Linked DNA regions of Homo sapiens: region 1 is linked to region 2. The links are contacts of gene promoters, found by promoter capture Hi-C in human tissues and cell types (Jung and others, 2019). All regions are on one chromosome and are shown on one strand. Each heading gives the region's core, a stretch centred on a gene start or on the middle of the fragment in contact. The rest is flanking DNA. Distances are from core to core; before and after follow the strand shown. Region 1 holds the start of WDR18 (WD repeat domain 18). Region 2 holds the start of MISP (mitotic spindle positioning).

Region 1 (4,837 bases), core at 289-2,788, 230 kb after region 2:
CTCCTGCCGACCAGGCGGGTCCCCGGGGCCGCCCTCCCTCTGGCCTGGGCTCGGGGTCGGTGGCTCGCGCCTGCCACCTGGCGGCCAGCGGGGCTGCGGCGCCGCACGCTCTGGCACCAGCCTCCTGCCCCGGCCGTGCCCTCCGCCGGGAGCCGCGGACCAGGAGTCGCACCGCCTCCGGGGACCGCACCCCGCATGCAGCCTCCAGCCCCTGCCTCTTGCTGCTCGAGGGCACACGACCCAGGTCAGCTGCAACCCCCGGGCGGAAATCCCGACTTTTAAATGAATGCTCCCTTTTTATCCCTTTTTAAGGGGTTGGCAACTAATTGCACATTTTAAATCATACTGTTTTTAGGCCGGACGTTGTGGCTGAAGCCTGTAATCCCAGCGGTTTAAGAGGCCAAGGCCTAAGCCCAGGTGTTGGAGACCAGCCTGAGCAACACAGTGAGACCCCCCATCTCTACTAGATATATATTTAGTATAAATAAATAATAGATATATGTTTTTCTTTGAGACAGAGTCTCATTCGCCCAGGCTGGAGTGCCTGGGATCTCGGCTCACTGAGACCTCCGCCTCCCGGGTTCAAGCGATTCTCCTGCCTCAGCCTCCCACCACGCCCGGCTTTTTGTACTTTTTGTAAAGACGGGGTTTCGCCATGTTGGCCAGGGTAGTCTCGAACTCCTGATCTCAGGTAATCCACCCACCTCGGCCTCCCAAAGTGCTGGGATTACAGGCCTGAGCCAAAGCGCCCGGCCTTTTTTTTTTTTTGAATGCCGTTTTCAGACATGGTCCGTGACGGGCAGCCGTGACATGAAGTTAGACCCTGCTTGGCTCGGACAGAACTGGCGACTTGTTTGACCTACACCAAGCTATCCGACTAATAATTTAGATGTTGAGGCCCCTAAAGAGGGGTCAAGGGGGAGGCAGATGTCGACCAATAAGGAAACACTGGGCCGGGCGCGGTGGCTCACGCCTGTAATCCCAGCACTTTGGCAGGCCGAGCTGGGAGGATCACTTGAGCTCAGGAGTTCGAGGCCAGCCTGGGCAGGACAGTGAGACCCTGGCTCTACAAAACTAAATAAATAAGGAAGCAGTGAATTCCAATGTATTCATCGCCAACTAGCCATGTTGCTGGGTGTGCGCTCTCTCTTTTAGGCGCAATGTGTCATTTAGGCCTGTGACGTCGGAACTTTATTATTTGAACATTTAAAAATAAATGAATCCAAGAGCTTGAGTCACTTGGCCAAAAATGCCCAGGAGGAAAAGGCCAAGTCAGGTACCCCGGCTCTAGAGCTACTAACTGATCGCCGGAGACCCTGGGCCTTGGAAGAAGTCGCCTCCCCAGATCTCTAAGCAGGCCGCGCGACCCTCGAGTCTCAGGTAAGCGGGAAATCCCACTTCACAAGAAAGCCCCTCTCTCCGAGGCACGGGCGCATGCGCGGGTCGGCCACCCGCTGGGGCCGCGGGGCCGCCGCTCTGGCCCGCGTGGGGCAGTCGTCCGCGTCTCGCTCATGATGACGCACGTCCGGGGCGGTGGGGAAGGCAAGATGGCGGCGCCCATGGAGGTGGCCGTGTGTACGGACTCGGCGGCCCCGATGTGGAGCTGCATCGTGTGGGAACTTCACTCGGGCGCCAACCTGCTCACCTACCGCGGCGGCCAGGCGGGACCCCGCGGCCTGGCGCTGCTCAATGGCGAGTATCTGCTGGCGGCGCAGCTGGGCAAGAATTACATCAGCGCCTGGGAGCTCCAGCGGAAGGTGCGGCGGTGCGGTCTCGCTGCTGGGGTCATGGGGCGCCCGAGGCTGAAGTCGGGGGATGGGTTGGTGGGGGCCGCGTGCACCCTTAGTCGGAATTGGCGTGGGGAGGGGAGGTGGTCTCCGTTCGGGCGCTCTGCGCATGCGCGGGTCTGGGGGCTTTGGGGAGATACGTGCGACCTGTTAGGCCGCTCTGCGCACGCGCGGGGCTCAGGCCTGAGCTGCTATGGGGGCAGTGGGGGAAAATGGGAGACGCTCCGGGGGGTCCCTTGGGGCAATTGCGCATGCACGAGTTCTTGGAGCGCGAAATTTGATTAAAAGGGGCCTATGAGCTCTGTGGATGTTGTGGTTCTGGAGGAAAAGGGAGAAGGACCAAGGTCTGGGGGAGTCTCCCATGAAGGGGTGGCGCAGGAAACTCATGTTTATTCCTCCAATAAAGCAACAGATACTCACCGTCGCCCACAGTTTCCCCTCTACTCCCAAGCCCAAATGCAGCCAGTCCCTGAAGCTACTCGCTTCCCCCGTGTGCCCGCTGAGATCTCTTGGGACTGGCTCTGTGCTCCAGCATTGCCTGATGGAGTCTACACACAACTCATAAATTTCTCCCATTTTATTTTAGTTTTGAGACAGGGTCTCACTCTGTCGCTGAGGCTGGAGTGCAGTGGTGCGATCTCGGCTCACTGCAGCCTCTGCCTCTAGGGTTCAAGCGATTCTCGGGCCTCAGCCTCCTGAGTAGCTGCAACTACAGGCCCGCACCAACCACCACACCCGGCCCACATTTGTATTTTTTGTAGAGGCAGGGTTTCACCATGTTGGCCAGGCTGGTCTCGAACTCCTGACCTCAAGTGATCTGCCCACCTCAGCCTCCCAAAGTGCTGGGATTACAGCCGTGAGCCACCACGCCCGGCTGAGTTTTCCCATTTTAGAGAGGAGGAAGCTGAGGCTTGGGGTCTTAGGTTGGACATTATGGATAGAAGGATTGGGGCACAAGCCTACTGGGCTCTTGGGCCCCAGTGTCCTTCTGGATCCTCTTTGTTCTGTTCCTGTACTCCTCCCACCCAGGGCCCCTCTGACCCTCAGAGGAAGCACCAACCTCACATCTACCACCTCCAGCCTCGAAGCCTCTTGCAGGGGCGAACACTTCCTTGCTGGACCATGCATTTGCTCAAACCACCCTGCTCCCGACTCCTCTTCCTGGTTCTCTGACTTAGCCATTGCCCAGGCGTCCCCTCCCCTCGCCCTCCACTGCTGTAGTAGCTCCCGTGTCCTGCATGGGGCTCACGAGGCTGACTGTGCATCCTTAGGACCAGCTCCAGCAGAAGATCATGTGCCCCGGGCCTGTCACCTGTCTGACTGCATCACCCAATGGTCTCTACGTCCTGGCAGGAGTTGCAGAAAGCATCCACCTGTGGGAGGTAAGAGGAGCAAAGCGTGAGCGTTTCCCACAGGACATCTCAGCCCATCTGAGCTTTGCCTGCAGGGCACCAGGGAACAACCATGCGGCCTGGGGCCCTGGGATGGGTGACTGCTCAGGGGTTATAGCCTAAGCTTCACCCTGCTGCCTCCTTTCTCCAGGTCCCCTCGAGACTTGCGAATCCCAGACCAGCCCTAATCCTGCCTTGAGTGCTTGGATAGAGCCCGGTGCAGCCCAGTCCCCGGCACTCACACACCGCAGCATCTTCCAGGGCTAGCGGGCATCTCTTCCACGCAGGCGGCAGCGCCTGGCACTTGTGACTTGAAAGTTATAAAGGGCGGCCGGGCGCAGTGGCTCATGCCGGTAGTCAATGCAACCTCTGCCTCCCAGGTTCAAGCAATCCTCCTGTCTCAGTCTCCTGAGTAGCTGGGATTCCAGGCGCCCACCACCACACCTGGCTAATTTGTTTGTATTTAGTAGAGAAGGGCTTCACAATGTTGGTCAGGCTGGTCTCCAACTCCTGACCTCAGGTGATCCACCCGCCTCGGCCCCCCAGAGTAGTGGGATTACAGGCGTGAGCCACCGCGCCCGGCCAGTGCCTCCTTTTTCTTACCGCTGGACCAACCAGGTGACAGCAACTCCTAGACACACTCACAGCCCGGATCCTGCCATGCTCTCACTGCGAGACAGAGTGAACTGTTCAGGCTTTGCATTTAGGCCAGCTTCTCAGCTCTGCCCTGGTGAGGGGAAGCAGCCCTGGATGATGTGTGAGTGAGTGGGCACAGAGATGTGCCAGGGAGACTTCATTCACAAAGTCAGGCCTCTTGGAGTTTGGCCCATACCGTAGCTGTGGCGTTAGATCACCGGCTGTGTTGTCACAAATGGTCCATTATATTTCGGGGGAGACCTGCCCTCAACCCCACATAGAGCAGGGCAGACAGTACAAGATCTGGGGCCAGAAGACCCAAAGGTAACCATGTTTCTGCCCTTCCTGACCTTGTCCTTGCTTCCCTCAGTGGGCTGCTCAGAGAACTGAGAGGGCTGGGTGGGCATGAGCATTCTCGGAGAGATAAAAAAGCCACCAGGGGATGGGCATGGCGGCTCATGCCTGGAATCCCAGCACTTTGGGAGGCTGAGACGGGCAGATCACTTGAGGCCAGGAGTTCAAGACTAGCCTGGGTAACATGGTGAAAACCCATGTCTGCAAAAAATAGAAAAATTAGCTGGGCATGGTGGCATACACCTATAGTCCCAGCTTTTTGGGAGGCTGAGGCATGAGAATCACTTGAATCCGAGAGGCGGAAGTTGCAGTGAGATGAGATTGTACCACTGCACTCCAGCCTGGGTGACAGAGCAAGACCTTGTCTCCAAAGAAAAGGGGGGTCGGGACAGGCAGCACAGGAATGACAGGAGGCATCATTATCTCACCCTCAGGACACGTGTGTATGTATTTAATTTTTAAACTTATTTTTGAGATGGGGTCTCACTACATTGCCGTAGCTGCTCTTGAACTCCTGGGCTCAAGCGATCCTCCCAGGTAGCTGGGATTATAGGCATGTGCCACCATGCCTGGGATCCCAAGGCTTTTACATCTCACTCCATGATTTTGAAACTAGGATGCAGTTGCTGAGAGGGAAACTGAGGCAGGGAAGCAGTAGCTCACGAGTCA
Region 2 (4,592 bases), core at 1,530-4,029:
CCTGGAGTTCTTGCCTTTCAACCTGGCGAGGAAGGCGTGGCCAGGCCAGGGGGTGGGGCCTGCCGGCCTTTGAGCCATTAAAGGGAGGCTGAGCAGGGTTGCGGTGTGCTGGCTTCACCTGCCTGCACCCGCTCACCCTGAGCGCCTTGGGGTGGTGGGAGGCGCTGGAATCCCCACTGTGCAGGTAAGGCCTGGCTGTAAGGGGCTGCTGTGGGGGGGCAGGACTGGCTTCCCGGGGGGCCCTCGGGTTCTGCGGCCGCCCCGTCCTGTCCTTTGTTCCTCCCTTTGCTGGGCTCACAGCCCCTGGGTGATGACAGAGGGTCCCCTGGACACCCACAAGCTCTGTAGAGAAGCCGGCCCCTGGGAAATACACAGGAGGCCTGGGGAGGAGGTGTCTGTAGAGACCAGTGTCATGCTCACGGGAAGGTGCTGCCCCGCCAGCCCCACTCTCTCACGCTGTAGTCTTGGAGAAGTCGCTGCCTCCTCTGGGCCTCAGTTTTCCCATCTGTAAAATAAGCCTTCGTGGCCGGGCACGGTGTTTCACACCTGCAATCCTAGTACTTTGGGAGGCCGAGGTGGGCGGATCACAAGGTCAAGAGATCGATACCATCCTGGCCAACATACTGAAACCCTGTCTCTACTAAAAATACAAAAACTTAGCCGGGCGTGGTGGCTCACGCCTGTAATCCTAGCTATTCAGGAGGCTGAGGCAGGAGAATCGCTTGAACCTGGGAGGCGGAGGCTGCAGTGAGCTGAGATCGTGCCACTGCACTCCAACCTGGGCGACAGAGCGAGACTCTGTCTCAAATAAAATAAAATAGGCCTTCGGAGCCCTGAGTGGGAGGCCAGCCTCAGCCTGGGCGTGGGACGTCTCCACAGTGCCCCCAGCTCATGGGCGATCCAGCCTCCACCCTGCTGGGGCCTCAGTTTTCCCCGATGAGGTGGTGAGTGTGGTGGAGAGCACTGCTGAGGGAACTCAGGTTCCAATTCCAGCCTAAACCCCCGCCATTCCTGAGGCGCGATTTTAAGCTTTCCGTACCTCCGTTTCCCTATCTACAAGCCAGGGAGAAAAGGACGTGAAGGGGGTGGCGGGAGGCGGCGGTGGGAGGCGCCGTGAGGCCGCGCACCCTGAGCTTTCACACACCCAGCAGCGTTAGGTGCCACGCTGTCCTTTGGGGGCCCTTTATCCAGATTTGTCCTTAAACACCCCCATCTTGGCCAGGCGCCGTGGCTCGCGCCTGTAATCCCAGCACTTTGGGAGGCTGAGGCGGGGGCATCACCTGAGGTCAGGAGTTCGAGACCAGCCTGGCTAACGTGGCAAAACCCTGTCTCTACTAAAAATACAAAAATAGCTGGGCGTGGTGGCTCATGCCAGTAATCCCAGCTACTAGGGAAGCTGAGGCAGGAGAATTGCTTGAACAGGGGAGGTTGCCGTGAGCCGAGATCGTGCCACTGCACTCCAGCCTGGGTGACAAGAGCGAGACTCCGTCTCAAAAAAAAAACACAAAAAAAGCACCCCCCTCCTGAGCAGCCCTGCTGGATTCGTAGCTGGGGGCCTTTTTACTCGAAGAAGAGACTGAGGTTCAGAGGGGCTCCACAAGCAGCCCCTCTGGCGTAGGTCAGGACAGAGCCCCAGCCTGGGGAACTGAAGTCCCTGCCCCCTCAGCTGTGTTCCCTGCCCTCATAGACGGCGCTAGGCCCAGTGGCCCGACTTCCCCACAGATGCTGGGCTCCCCACAGTCCCAGCAAGGCCTCTGCACCTTGACTAAGAATCCAGGAGGACCATGGGCGCCTGAGGGCCTCTGCGTCCCCATCTCTCGGGGTGGCCTGGGTCTTTTGACGGCCTCGTGCGGTTCTTTTTTTTTTTTTTTTTTTTTTTTTTTTGAGTTGGAGTTTTGCTCTTGTCGCCCAGGCTGGAGTGCAGTGGTGTGATCTCGGCTCACTGCAACCTCCAACTCCTGGGTTCAAGTGATTCTTCTGCCTCAGCCTCCCAAGTAGCTGGGATTATAATAGCGTGCCACCATACCCCGCTAAATTTTGTATTTTTAGTAGAGACGGGGTTTCGCCATGTTGGCCAGGCTGGTCTCGAACTCCTGGCCTCAAGTGATCCGCCCGCCTCGGCCTCCCAAAGTGCTGGGATTACAGGTGTGAGCCACCAAGTCCGGCCCCCTCGTATGGGTTTTTATGTGGATGGGGCCTAGGGAATTCCTCCCAGCAGCCCTGAGGGAGCCCGGGCGTGATGTTCCCCCACGTCCCGGAGGAGAAAACAGGGCTAAGAGAGGTCAGGTGGGATCAGAACCCAGGCCACACCAAACCCCCCCGAGTCTGCCAAACCTGGTTTATGCAAGAAGGGGGCCATCTAGGGGAGTTGCCCCAAGGGGTGGGCTGGGCCAGAAGGCACGGACGGGATTGGGACTCAGCCCCTCCGGCCCCCCAGGAGACACAGGCCACTGTGCACGCTGAGCTGCTGTGTGGCCCTGGACACCTGCTGACCCTCTCTGAGCGGTGCTGAGAGGCGGTGGGAGGGCCAGGCAGCCAAGGGAGGTTTCGGCTGAGTTCTGGCTCCTCGGGGCCACCTGGAGGCCCTGGGGGTGGAGGGGCAGCCGGCAGCGGGCACGGTGCCCGCCCTTGCCCAGCCTGGTATCCTCTTTCTCCCTCCTCCTCCTCTGGACTTTGTTTCCTGATCCCAGGTGGGGCTGGGGGGAGGGGGCACACCTGCCTCCCCTGGGTGGGGCCTCTGTTCCCTGGCAACCTGGCGGGCAGGGCGGAGCTGGGAGGCCTCTGTGCCCATCGAGGAGTCAGAGTGGAGGCTGCAGACTGTGGAGCCGGGAGCCGGCAGGTGAGGCTGGGGGCGCCCCGGGCCGGGCCGGGCGGGGATCCTGTGTGGGGCGGTTGGATCCACATTTGGCGTGGGAGCGTCATGTGTCTGTGGGCGGGGTCTGCTTGCCTGGCGGCACTTGGGATCCAGGGAGGCCCCCTGCCCCACCCCGTCACCCTCGGAGCCTCCCTGAGGCACCTTTCCCTCTGCCCCCGCTAGGTACTCTGGGGCCTCAAGGGCACCCACTGGGAGAGCAGAGAGGCCCTTGTCCCTGAACTCTGCTGGGGCTTTTGAACCCCAAATCCCAGAGCCCTCCAAGGGAGGGGCCGGGTTGGCACCCCCATGGTCAGAGGCCAGAGGGGCCCCTCCATGGTTCTGGGAATTCCAGAGGCTTCTGGAGAGATGCTTATCCGTCCCACCAGGCCCCTGACTGGGAGGCTCTGGGCAGTAAACACCCCCGTGGGGCTGGGGGCTGGTTTGGGGACACGGAGGAGGGGTGGCTGAGTACAGGCGGAAGGAGTCTCAGGCCGGGGCTGGGGACTTGGCCTGGGTCCTCGGGTGGGGGTGAGGTGGTAGCCTGGGATCCCGGGCAGCCAGCAGGGACTCGGCCCAGCGTCTGCCGGTGGAGCTCCGCCCAGGAGCCCAAGGAGCTGAGATGACTCAAGGGTGACTGCAACCCTGAGGGATGGGAAAAAGGAACGGGGCCCTCCCTTCTGCATGGCCTCCTTGTCTGAGTCTCGGCCCCACAAGGGAACCTTTGCCCCTCACATAGAGCCAACTGGCTGATGAGGAAGGAGGTGTGGCACCAGGGTCCATAAACCCAGTTTCATTCTGGTATCAACAGAGTTCAGGGTGAGGCTGGGAGGAGCAACCCAGGGGGCTTCCTGTAGGAGGGGGTGATTTGGAGCAAAGTCTGAAAACTGGCTTCAGACACTTGCTCTGTCATCGCTGTGTGACCTCAGATGAGCAGGTTCTCCTCTCTGGGTCCCAGCTCCCTCTCTCGAAAACCGGAGTCGAAAACGGTTCCAAGGTGTTGCAGGAAGAGTCTCAGGACGCCGAGGTCCTTAGCCACCGCCGGGCCTTGCAGGGGCCATCTTCCGTCCTGGGGCTCTTCCCCCGAGGGCAGCGCCGCTGCCCAAGAATGCCGGCCATGAGAGCCGCCGTGGATCCAGGGGTTTTTTTGGCCGACACAGTGAAACCCCATCTCTACTAAAAATACAAAACTTAGCCGGGCGTGGTGGCGGGCGCCTGTAGTCCCAGCTACTTGGGAGGCTGAGGCAGGAGAATGGTGTGAATCCGGGAGGCAGAGGTTGCAGTGAATGGAGATCGCGCCACTGCACTCCAGCCTGGGCGACAGAGGGAGACTCTATCTCAAAAAAAAAAGCGGGGGGCGGGGGTGGGCACTGAGGCACAGGCAGCAGGGGAGGGGGCCCAGTGGCCTTGAACCCAAGAGCTGGACCCCAGGCCCCACCCGCTGGCTTCAGTGAATCACTGGGGAGGAATGAGCAGAGGAGGATGCGTGCCTTCATCCCCACCCAACCCCGACCCCACTGGGAGACCCGGCACCTGCTCGAGGCTGGGCGGACAGCTCCCTTTCTCCCGGAGTTGACGTCTGATGTGGGTTATAAATCCCGCTGTGTAAACGTCTGTCCACTCACTGGGCAAACATTCCTACACCCGCCCTCCCCGGGGAGCTCCAGGGTGCAGGGCGTGGACCTGCCCAGCCCTTCAGGGCCAGAAGGCACGGTGGAGCCGGTCTGCATTCCGCAATGAG

The links. The method cuts DNA at HindIII sites, captures the fragments that hold promoters and counts their contacts. A contact is called where the count stands out against the background at its distance.
Region 1: a contact is called between the fragment with the promoter of WDR18 here and the fragment with the promoter of MISP in region 2, in 8 of the 25 tissues and cell types used here (H1 embryonic stem cells, aorta, dorsolateral prefrontal cortex and 5 more).

What each region holds. Positions count from the first base shown.
Region 1 is chr19:982,807-987,643 of GRCh38, forward strand. It overlaps WDR18 (WD repeat domain 18), which reads left to right and starts at 1,539. Exons shown (of 10, transcript NM_024100.4): 1 at 1,539-1,757; 2 at 3,059-3,169. The coding sequence starts at 1,548. RefSeq lists silencers at 1-194, 1,359-1,448 and enhancers at 1,133-2,074, 1,499-1,648, 1,679-1,858. The HindIII fragment of the contact is 34,067 bases long and covers 1-4,837 here.
Region 2 is chr19:748,333-752,924 of GRCh38, forward strand. MISP (mitotic spindle positioning) reads left to right here and starts at 2,780. Exons shown (of 5, transcript NM_173481.4): 1 at 2,780-2,839. The HindIII fragment of the contact is 28,409 bases long and covers 1-4,592 here.